3 separate regions of the Homo sapiens genome follow, and regions 1 and 2 are each linked to region 3. The links are contacts of gene promoters, found by promoter capture Hi-C in human tissues and cell types (Jung and others, 2019). All regions are on one chromosome and are shown on one strand. The core of a region is centred on a gene start or on the middle of the fragment in contact, and the rest is flanking DNA. Distances in the headings are between cores, read along the strand shown. Region 1 holds the start of IL32 (interleukin 32). Region 2 holds the start of PKMYT1 (protein kinase, membrane associated tyrosine/threonine 1). Region 3 holds the start of PAM16 (presequence translocase associated motor 16).

Region 1 (3,516 bases), core at 1,017-3,516, 1.3 Mb after region 3:
TCCTCAGCTCCCACACACCCCGAACTGGGCCCAGCCAGGGGCCCGGGCCACGTCTGGCACCCCTGTTGTTTCCTCAAGGAGCCCTGGGGCTTGGATGCCTCCCTCAGTCTCCCCGGGCGTCCAGATCCCCCACCCGCCCACTCACTGCCACCCAGGTGCAAGCATTTGCCCACGGTAAGGGGTGAGGGAGCCTGTGGGTCCCTCTTCATCCTTCTCACCCTGAGCCCCACACAGGGTGGAGTGCCTGGGGGCGGGGACATGTGACCTGGTGCCTGAGGGGAAATCCACCCACCTGTCCACGTCCTGATTCTGCATTTTGCATTTTATCATAAAATCTTTCTATGGCCTGGTGCTGTGAAGAGAGGCAGAGTTGGCACCAAAGGGCCGGATCCTTGTCCCTCCAGGGTCCCAGGTGTCCCACAGTGTCCTCAGTGTCACACGCTGAGACCCAGGCCCCCAACCCCTGAGCAGAAGTAGGGAGGAGCATTACCATTCGGGCCTTCAGCTTCTTCATGTCATCAGAGAGGACCTGCGGAAATAACGGTGACACTCAGTCTCCATGTGTCACCTTAACCTTTCCTCCAGGATAATTTATACACACACACACACACACACACACACACACACACACACAGAGACACATGGCAGAGGTACAGGATAAGAGGAGACAGCAGTCCCAGGAGCCCCTCACAGCCTGGAAAGACCGGCCAGGGCTGTCCTCGAAACGACTCAGAAAGCGCTTCTCTCAGGAGCCGGCTCAGCTGGGCAGGCCCAAGAGCAGGGCCAGCATGGGCCTAGGTGACCCCTCCTCACAAGAGCAGGGCCTGCGTGGGCCTAGGTGACCCCTCCTCACAAGAGCAGGGCCTGCGTGGGCCTAGGTGACCCCTCCTCACAAGAGCAGGGCCTGCGTGGGCCTAGGTGACCCCTCCTCACAAGAGCAGGGCCTGCGTGGGCCTAGGTGACCCCTCCTCACAAGAGCAGGGCCTGCGTGGGCCGGGGTGTCCTCCCTGCACACACACACCCCCCCATGTACACACACGGGAGGATGGACACTGTCCTGGAGCAGGCTGGCTCAGCTGGGTTTCCCACAACCACTATGGTCCCAGGTGAGAGTTGGCCAAGGAAAAAATGTTTAGGGACATGACAATTGAGAAGGTAACAGCAGCCATTCCTCTCTGATGAGCTGATTAATATTTGGGGTGCCAGGTAGGTCCACCCTACAACCTGCCACTCTTCCCGACTGCCAACATGCAGACCCACAGGTCCCGGGCCATTCCTGCCTGCAGACACGTGGCTGCATCCACAGAGGCCAGAGGCACCCCACAGAATCCCCGCTGAGCCCCCACGTCAAGGGCCTAGTCTCGGGGGTGACATGCCTGGTTTCCCCCACTATAGAGTGGTGACAGTCACCCACAGAGTGCGCAGGGCCTGGGGACATATTCTGGGCAGGGCAGCTGTCTGCACACTTTCAGGCAGCGATGGTCCCATCCCGCTAGCCTGATTTCCCAGGAACCAGGGTGAAAGCAGCACCGTGCCGACATGCGGGAGCCATGTGTCCTCCGGGTCACTGTCCTGAACCTGAGCCAGGCCACATCATGGAAACCCCTATTGTCACAGGCCGAAGAGCTCCCTGGAGGGTGTGGTGGGCCTAGCATTTGCGGTGGGGCAGTGGTAGAGGATGGGAGGTCGGAGGGAACCCAGGAAAGGAGGAAGAGACACCAGGACCCACACAGGCCTTGCTCTTGGGCCCACCCAGCTGAGCCGGCCTCTGAGAGAAGCATTCTCCGAGTCGTTTCCAGCAGAGCCCTGCCCCACCCCTGCCCCGGGCTTTCCGGGCTGTGAAGGGCTCCTGGGACAGGTGCTCCCTCTCATCCACACCCCTGCCGTTCTCCAGCGCCCCCGACACATATGACCTCCAGCGCCTCCACTGACACTCTCACCCCATCACTATCCTCCTGCCGCTGGGTGCCCCTGACTGAGCCCTGACACACAGGCACCTCGGGAAATACTGAGGGCACCCGCACCCTTACGGTCTGTTTTCAGACATGCCCACAAAAGCACACGCAGCCTCTCACTCACCTTCGGGAAGCACATGGCGGCCAAAAGTTCAAGGAGCCAAGGCCTGCTGGCGAGGAACAGGTGTGAGGAAAAGAAAGTGTCTCAGAGAAGCACCCTCCTCCCCAGAGGGTCCTCACCTTCGGGGACCCCAACTCCCCACCTGAGATGACCCAGCTCCACTGAGACAGTCACCTTCTGCACGCAGTCTTCCTGGCACAAATACTCAGCTGGTTTTATGGGGAAAGTGGGGGGTAGTGGGCGGAGCCTCTCTCAGGGCAGGAGGCCTTGCTGAGTGCGTGAAAAACAGACAGAGACAGAGACAGAGACAGAGACAGACAGAGATGGAGACTTACCCGAGAGAGACAGAGGTCTGGGGTCCCTGGGAGGAATGAGGGTCCGTCCCTGGCTGGGCCCCTGCTCCCTCTGAGCTGGGGTGGGAGTCTCTGAGCCCAGGAATGGGCTGCTTTCCCCACCCCACCAGCCTGAGAGTGGGGAGGGGCAGAGGGAAAGTCCAGACTCGGGACAGCTGGCTGGGGAAACTCCCTGAGTACAGGAAGGTGACGTCAGCCAAGTGGGATCCAAGGACAAAGGAATTTGGACCCTGTCCTTGCATGAGGTGTGCCCCGGCTCCAGAGGCCAGAGAAACTTCTGGATCAGAAGGAGGCAGGAACTGCCGGACCTAAGAGGGGCGCCGTGAGGGCAGGGGCCTGTGCACGTTGGAGGGGTGGCTAGTGGTGATGTAGATCTACCTGTGGGACAAGATAGGACCCTCTGCAGGGTGGAAGGCATCCTGCCGGCTGTCTGAGCTTGGCTGACCAGGTCCTTCTGACCCTTCTGGGCCAAGGCAAGGCCATCTGGGGCCGAAGGTCACTGGTCTCAGCAATCTTGGGGCTCCCCTACGGGCTCTTCTAGCTCCACGGGTTCTGACCCTCCAGCCTGGCTGGGCCTCCCACCTCCTCCTCACGGCCCCCAGCCCCCTTCCCCCAGCTGAGCACAACCACGCCCTTGCCTTTGGGATGGTTTCCTGGGGCCAAACTAAGGAAGTACCACGACAAGGGGCCCTAAGTCGAAGACGTCTCTTCCCTCACGATCTGCAGGCTGGAGGTCCAAGGTCAATGTGGGCAGCGTGGGGTCCTTCTGAGGGCCCGGAGCTGGGATTCTGTTCAGGTTTCTCCTGCCCTTGTAGATGGCCATCTTCATCTTCATCACGTTCTGCCTGGGTGTGACTGTCCCCCTTTCCCCTTTCCAAAGGACACCAGTCATATTGAAATAGGGTCCACCCTAGGCCGGGCGCAGTGGGTCACGCCTGTAATCCCAACACTTTGGGAGGCCGAGGCGGGCAGATCACCTAAGGTCAGGAGTTCTAGACCAGCCTGGCCAACATGGTGAAACCTTGTCTCTACTAAAAATACAAAAATTAGCCTTGCGTGGTGGCCGGCACCTGTATTCCCAGCTACT
Region 2 (3,143 bases), core at 53-2,552, 1.4 Mb after region 3:
TCGGTGAGGGAAGGAACAATCCCTAGCCCGACTTGCTCCGCGAGGGCCCCTGCTAATCACTTTAGGGGATCATCCCAGCGTCCTCAGCTGTTTTTTTTTTTCCAGGAGAGGAGACTAATCCGAAGCTCAGAAAGGCTCAGTGCATTCCCAAGGTCGTTCAGCCAGGAGAGCGCTGAAGGGATCTGAGCTGAGAGCAAGTCTCAAACTCAGAGAATGGAGGAGCTGCCCCGGAAGTGGCTGCTCGAGGCTGCAGTGAACTATGATCCTGCGGCCAATCGCGGTGGCTCACGCCTGTAATCCCAGCCTTCTGGGAGGCCGAGGCGGGCGGATCGCTTGAGGTCAGAAGTTCGACACTAGCTTGGCCAACATGGTAAAACACCGTCTCTACAAAAAAATGCAAAAATTAGTTGGGTGTGGTGGCGCGCGCCTGTGGTCCCAGCTACTCAGGAGGCTGAGGTGGGAGGAACGCTTGAGCGGGGGAGGCGGAAGTTACAGTGAGTCGAGATCGCCCCACTGCACTCCAGCCTGGACAACAGAATGAGACCCTGTCTAAAAATAAAATACATGAGCCGAGTGCGGTGGCGCGCGCCTGTGATCTCACATACTCGGCAGGCTGAGGTTGGGAGAACCGCCTGAACCTGGGGACTGCACCACTGCATTCCAGCCTTGGTGACAGTGAGACCCTGTCTAAAAAAAAAAAAAAAAGTATCTGAGGCCTGTTGGCAGGGAAGCTGCAGGCAGGCGAGGTCAGGCCAAGCAGAGTCCTGCCTATCTGGAGAGCTTCCTGGAAGAGGCGGCTTTTTCTGGCTCCCGAAGCCGTGCGCTAGGGGTTGGGGGTCGTGCGTCTGGCCTCCCACCGCGACCCTGGTTCAGAACACGGCCGGAGTGAGAAGGGGGGTGCCGGGACCCAGGAGGCCGTAGGGACTTCCTGGTCCTACCCGGAGTAACCCTGGGGCTACGCCTGCTCCGAGCACCGGGATGGCGGTCCCTTTTATGGACCCAAACACTACGCCAGCCCAGCGAGGGCGGTGGGTGTCGGGTGCGAGGCCTGGAGGGCAGTGGGCGTCCCAGGGACTGGGCGGCTGAAGCCCCGCGCAGCGACTCAGAACCAGGCCGCCACCCACGCCCCGGGCCAGCGCGGAGAATCCTGTGCGCCTGCGCAGTGAGCGGCGGGGCGGCTCGGCGGCGCGCACGCAGCACGAGGGGCGGAGCCTCGGAGCCCGGGCACCCCTGACGGGCTGCACTGGGGAGGGGGAGGAGCCTCGAGGCCGGTTTGGAATTTTTGGCGCGAGCAGCTCCGCGCGCGTTCACGGGCCGTTCCCCCTCACGGGAGTCCTCCGCCCGGGCGTCCGGAACAGTCGACGGCAGACTCCGGCCCGCTGAGCCACCCGAGGGGTCCCGTGGCCTCCGCGGACCCGGAATCTGGGCCCTCGCGGACCCGCGCCCCGCCCAGTCGCCCCAGGTGAGCCCAGACCCCGCCGTGAGGGGCCTCGGCGTGGCCACCTCGCCGCTCCCCTCCGCCTCGCCAGGTCTGCGTTACCCCTGCCCCTCAGGCCTCCCCGGCGGCCCGCTCGCGTCCCCTCAGGCCCGCCCCCGCGAGCCCCTGCCTCCCGTCCTCCCCAATTCCTGGTTCCCTTGCCTCGAGCCCCTTCCCAGCGGCGGTCCCGCCCTACTCGCCCCTCCCGGAGACCCCGCCTGCTGTCCATCAACCCCGCGCCGCCGCCCTCCCCGTGACAGTCCTTCCTCCGTGACAGCCCCTGCCCCGGGACAGCCTCTCTTCTTCTGCAACAGCCCCTCTTCCCTCGTGACAGCCCGTCCACTGCTCTGTTCGCCAGGGCTTCCCCACACCCACGGAGTGAAGTCAGCCGCGGCCCTGCCTGGGAGGAACTTACCGTCTACCGGGAAAGGTGGCCAGCAGATGTGTCGGGCCTGGTGAGAGGGTGAGGCGAGACGGCCCGATCGCCCAGGGCCCCGGAAGCTGCGGAGGTCACCCCCGCCTGGCCTTAGCTCAGGGACACCCTGGATTCACGTGGGAGCCCCTGCTCCTGCCTCCCCCGTCCCACCACTGAGGCTGTTGGGCCAGGCCAGTCATGCTAGAACGTAAGTCGTAGGGCAGGGACGGTGGGAGAACTGGGTTAAGATGCACAGGCCCAGGTCCCCGAGTGTGCCAGGGTTGGGCCTGGAGGCTGTGCTTGTGACCAGTGACCTCCAGGATCCCAACACCCTGGCTCCTGACTTGGAGAAACCCTGGGCTGGGACTCTGAGGTAGTTAGAGTCAGAGGAAGAGTCTCCACAAGATGGAGGGCAGCCTGCCAGCCAGGCCCAGGTAGCATCGCTCCCCTCACCCCTGTACTCCCTCAGGTACTGGAGACTGCTCTTTTTAATTTTTTATTTACTATTATGTATATTTTTTTGAGATGGAGTTTTGCTCTTGTCGCCCAGTTGGAGTGCAATGCCGCAATCTCGGCTCACCGCAACTTCCACCTCCTGGGTTCAAGCATTTCTCCTGCCTCAGCCTCTGAGTAGCTGGGACTACAGGCATGCACCAGCACGCCCGGCAAAAATTTGTATCTTTAGTAGAGATGGGGTTTCACCATGTAGGCCAGGCTGGTCTCGAAGTCTTGACCTCAAGTGATCCACCCACCTTGCCTCCCGAAGTGCTGGGATTACAGGCGTGAGCCACCACACCCAGCCGCTCTATTGTTTTTTATAATACTTTGGTGCACCAGCCTCACCAACATGGTGAAACCACATCTCTACTAAAAATATAAAAATTATTCTAGTGTGTTGGCACACGCCTGTAATCCCAGCTACTCAGGAGGCTGAGGCAAGAGAATTACTTGAACCTGGGAGTCGGAGGCTGCAGTGGGCCGAGATCATACCACTGCACTCCAGCCTGGGCAACAGAGTGAGACCCTGTCTCAAAAACAAACAAACAAACAATACCTTGGGGCATAAAGTGTTCCACGGTCCAATCCAATTAAATTTTTTTTTTTTTTTGAGACAGAGTCTCGCTCTGTTGCCCAGGCTGGAGTGCAGTGGCATGATCTTGGCTCACTGTAATCTCTGCCTCCCAGGTTCAAGCAATTCCCCTGCCTCAGCCTCCCGAGTAGCTGGGACTACAGGCATGCACCACCACACCC
Region 3 (3,565 bases), core at 959-3,458:
GGGAGGATTGCTTGAACCCAGGAGTTTGAGGTCAGACTGGGCAACATAGGGGAACCCTTGTCTCTACAAAGAATACAAACATTAGCTGGGCGCGGTGGCTCACGCCTGTAATCCGAGCACTTCGGGAGGCCAAGGCAGGCGGATCACGAGGTCAGGAGCACGAGACCATCCTGGCTAACACGGTGAAACCCCGTCTTTACTAAAAATACAAAAAATTAGCCGGACATGGTGGCCCATGCCTGTAGTCCCAGCTACTCAGGAGGCTGAGGCAAGAGAATCTCTTGAACCCAGGAAGCAGAGGTTGCAGTGAGCCGAGGTCATGCCACTGCACTCCAGGCTGGGCAACAGGGAGACGCTCTCAAAAAGACAAAAAACAAACATTAACCACATGTGTTGGCACATGCCTGTGGTCCCAGCTACTCAGAAAGCTGAGGTGAAAGTATCACTCAAGGCTGGAAGGTCAAGACTGCAGTGAGCCATGATCATGCTACTGTACTGCAGCCTGGGCAACAGAGTGAGACCCTATCTTGAAAAAAAAAAATTTTTTTTTGGCTGGGCACGGTGGCTTACACCTGTAATCCCAGCACTTTCGGAGGCTGAAGTGGGAGGATCACTTGAACCCAGGAGGTGGAGATCGCAGTGAGCCAAGATTGGGCCACTGCTCTCCAGCCTGGGTGACAGAGCAAGACTTCATCTCAAAAAAAAAAAAAAAAGGAAAAATAATTTAAAAATAAAAAACCGGTTGGGCACAGTGTCACATGCCTATAATCCCAGCACTTTGGGAGGCTGTGGCGGGTGGATCATTTGAGACCAGTAGTTCAAGACCAGCCTGGCCAACATGGTGAAACCCTGTCTCTACTAAAAATTCAAAAATTAATGGGGCATGGTGGTCCATGCCTGTAATCCCAGCTACTCAGGAGGCTAAAGCATGAGCATCGCCTGAACCTGGGAGGTGGAGGTTGCAGTGAGGCAGGATTGTGCCACTGGACTCCAGCCTGGGCGACAGGGTGAGACCCTGTCTCAAAATGATAAATAAAATAAATAAGTAAATTATGTGGTATGGTAGAGGGTGATCAGAGTCTTGGAAGAAAAATAGAGACAAGAAGGGAGGATAAGCCAGTCACAAAAGGCTGCACATTGTATGATTCAATTTCTTCTTTTTTTTCATTTTTCATTTTTACCTTTTTTTTTTTTTTTTTTTTTTTTGAGGCAGGGCCTGACTCTGTCACCCAGGCTGGAGTGCAGTGATCACAGCTCACTGCAGCCTGTACCTCCCGGGCTCAAGAGATCCACCACTCAGCCTCCCAAGTAGCTGGGATTACAGGCACCTGCCACCACACCCGGCTAATTTTTGTATTTGTAGAGATGGGGTTTCACCATGTTGCCCAGCCTGGCCTTGAGTTCCTGACCTCAAGCGATCCACCTCGGCCTCCCAAAGTTTTGAGATTGCAGGCATGAGCCACCACGCCTGGCTTGTATGATTCCATTTCTATGAAATGTCCGGAACCTGTGAATCCATAGAGAGAAAAATGAGTGGTTGACAGGGGCTGGGGGAGGGGGCTGGGGAGTGACTAATGGGTGATGAAAACGTTCTGGAACTAATAGTGGTGACAGTGGCACAGCTCTGTGAATAAAAGGCATTGGACTGTGCACTTGAAAATCATGAAATCTACAGTGTATGGATTATATCTCAATAAAGCTGTTACTTTTTTCATTCATGGAGGGCAAGTCACGGCGTTTTAAGGGGTCCAGGTGGGCCTCATTGAGGTGACATTTGAGCAAAGATTTGAAGAAGGGAACGAGCTTCTCAGGCAGGAGGAATGTGGATGAAACCTATTTTGAAGTTTTCTATTTTCTAAAGTATTTTTGAGAATTTAGCATCCTACTCCATATTATGTTCATTGATTTCATATAATGTTGCATTCCCAAATATTTTGGCAAAATCAAGGGCAGAAATCGCCCCACGTCTGACCGATGTGCTTAGCTGCTCCAGCGCACTGGGGTAAGCACGCGGGCAATTGAGACTCCCGGTAACGCCCCTTGCCCTCCCAAGCCCGCCCCCAGTTATCCAGAGCCCGACGCAGGCTCAGTCAAACCCCGCCTCCGACCCCGCCCCGAGCCGCTAAGACGCTCCCGGTGGCCCGCCCTTAGACTGAGGCAATGCGCATGCCCAGCGCCGTATCGCGCACGCGCTCTCTGCGGCTTTCCTTGACCTCTGACCCGCCGACCACGCTTGATCCCCGGCCGCGGGGCCAGGAAGTCGGAGTTTGAGCCCCGGAGGCAGAGCGGCTGCCATGGTGAGCCCCGAGTCGGGCGCTACCGGGGAGGGGAAGCCGAGTCGGGCCGGGGGCCGGGGGCCGGGCGGCGAGCTCCGGGCTGGGCGGCGGGCGCCGTGCGCCCCCTGCGTGCCCGGCGGGAAGCATGGTCTGGGGGCGTTGCACCCGGGGGAATCGAGGCCGGCAGCGGCGGCACCGGCGGCCTCAGGGCCAGGGAAAACCGTCTGCCTGGAAGAGGCCGGGCAAACGTGGTCGCGCTGTGCCTAGCCCGCGTGTGAGCGAGCAGCCGTGGGCAGCGGTGGAGCATGAGTCTGGCTGGTGAGCGCCTCCCCTGCCCTGGAACCTTACAGCGCTGCAGAGTCGATGTTGCTGCCCTGTTGTTATCCCCAGTGGAAAGCTGGCCTTTCCAGGGAAGTGGCTGACCTGGGACTTGAACTAGGCCCCGAGACACCGAGCACGGAGCGTTTGTGTGATATCGTTGGCACGTAGAGCCAGTCAACAGACCTGCGCCACACTGTCAGGTCACCTAGGGTAGCTTTAAAAGTGCAGGTTTGGCTGGGCGCGGTGGCTCACGCCTGTAATCCCAGCACTCTGGGAGGCCGAGGCGGCGGATCACGAGGTCAGGAGTTCGAGACCAGCCTGGCCAACATGATGAAACCCGGTCTCCACCAAAAAATTTAAAAAATTAGCCGGGTGGGGTGGTGCGCGCCTGTAGTCCAAGCTACCCGGGAGGCTGAGGCAGGACAGACGCTTGAACCCGCGAGACAGAGGTTGCAATGAGCCGAGATCCGCCAGTGCACTCTAGCCTGGGCGACAGGGTGAGACTGCGTCTCAAAAAAAAAATTATATATATGTATTATATATACCGTATACATTTATGTATACTACATATTATTATGTTATATATATTTTTATATATCATGTATTTTATATATATATATACACACACACACACATAATATATACATATGTTAGCCAGGCATGGTGGCACACACCTGTAATCCCAGCTGCTTGGGAAGTTGAGGCGCCAGTATCGCTTGAACCCAGGAGGCAGAGGCTGCAGTGAACCAAGATTGTGCCACTGCACTCCAGTCTGGGCGACAGGGCAAAACTCTCTCAAAAAGAAAAAGAGGGGGAAAAAAAAAGTTCAGGTTCTTGAGCTCTATCCCTGGAGGTTCTGCACACGTAAGTTCCCCAAGTGACTCTGTTGCAGCTGGTTCGGGGAGCCACTTCTTAACTAACATAGTAATAAGGATAATGTAACAGCTAACGGCGTACAAGTGCCAGCC

The links. Contacts are between HindIII fragments. The study calls those that stand out against the background at their distance.
Region 1: the fragment with the promoter of IL32 here is called in contact with the fragment with the promoter of PAM16 in region 3 in 1 of the 25 tissues and cell types used here (spleen).
Region 2: a contact is called between the fragment with the promoter of PKMYT1 here and the fragment with the promoter of PAM16 in region 3, in 1 of the 25 tissues and cell types used here (spleen).

Annotation. Positions count from the first base shown.
Region 1 is chr16:3,064,390-3,067,905 of GRCh38, reverse strand. It overlaps IL32 (interleukin 32), which reads right to left and starts at 2,266. Exons shown (of 7, transcript NM_001376923.1): 1 at 2,219-2,266; 2 at 2,080-2,122; 3 at 491-529; 4 at 293-352. The coding sequence starts at 2,094. RefSeq lists enhancers at 1-124, 2,463-2,772. The HindIII fragment of the contact is 16,762 bases long and covers 1-3,516 here.
Region 2 is chr16:2,978,605-2,981,747 of GRCh38, reverse strand. It overlaps PKMYT1 (protein kinase, membrane associated tyrosine/threonine 1), which reads left to right and starts at 1,302. Exons shown (of 9, transcript NM_004203.5): 1 at 1,302-1,462; 2 at 1,836-2,100. The coding sequence starts at 2,091. RefSeq lists enhancers at 1-859, 860-1,735, 1,736-2,612 and silencers at 969-1,328, 1,339-1,568. The HindIII fragment of the contact is 14,611 bases long and covers 1-3,143 here.
Region 3 is chr16:4,349,964-4,353,528 of GRCh38, reverse strand. It overlaps PAM16 (presequence translocase associated motor 16), which reads left to right and starts at 2,208. Exons shown (of 5, transcript NM_016069.11): 1 at 2,208-2,297. The coding sequence starts at 2,295. The region is part of intron 27 of CORO7-PAM16 (CORO7-PAM16 readthrough); the gene reads left to right. The HindIII fragment of the contact is 27,496 bases long and covers 1-3,565 here.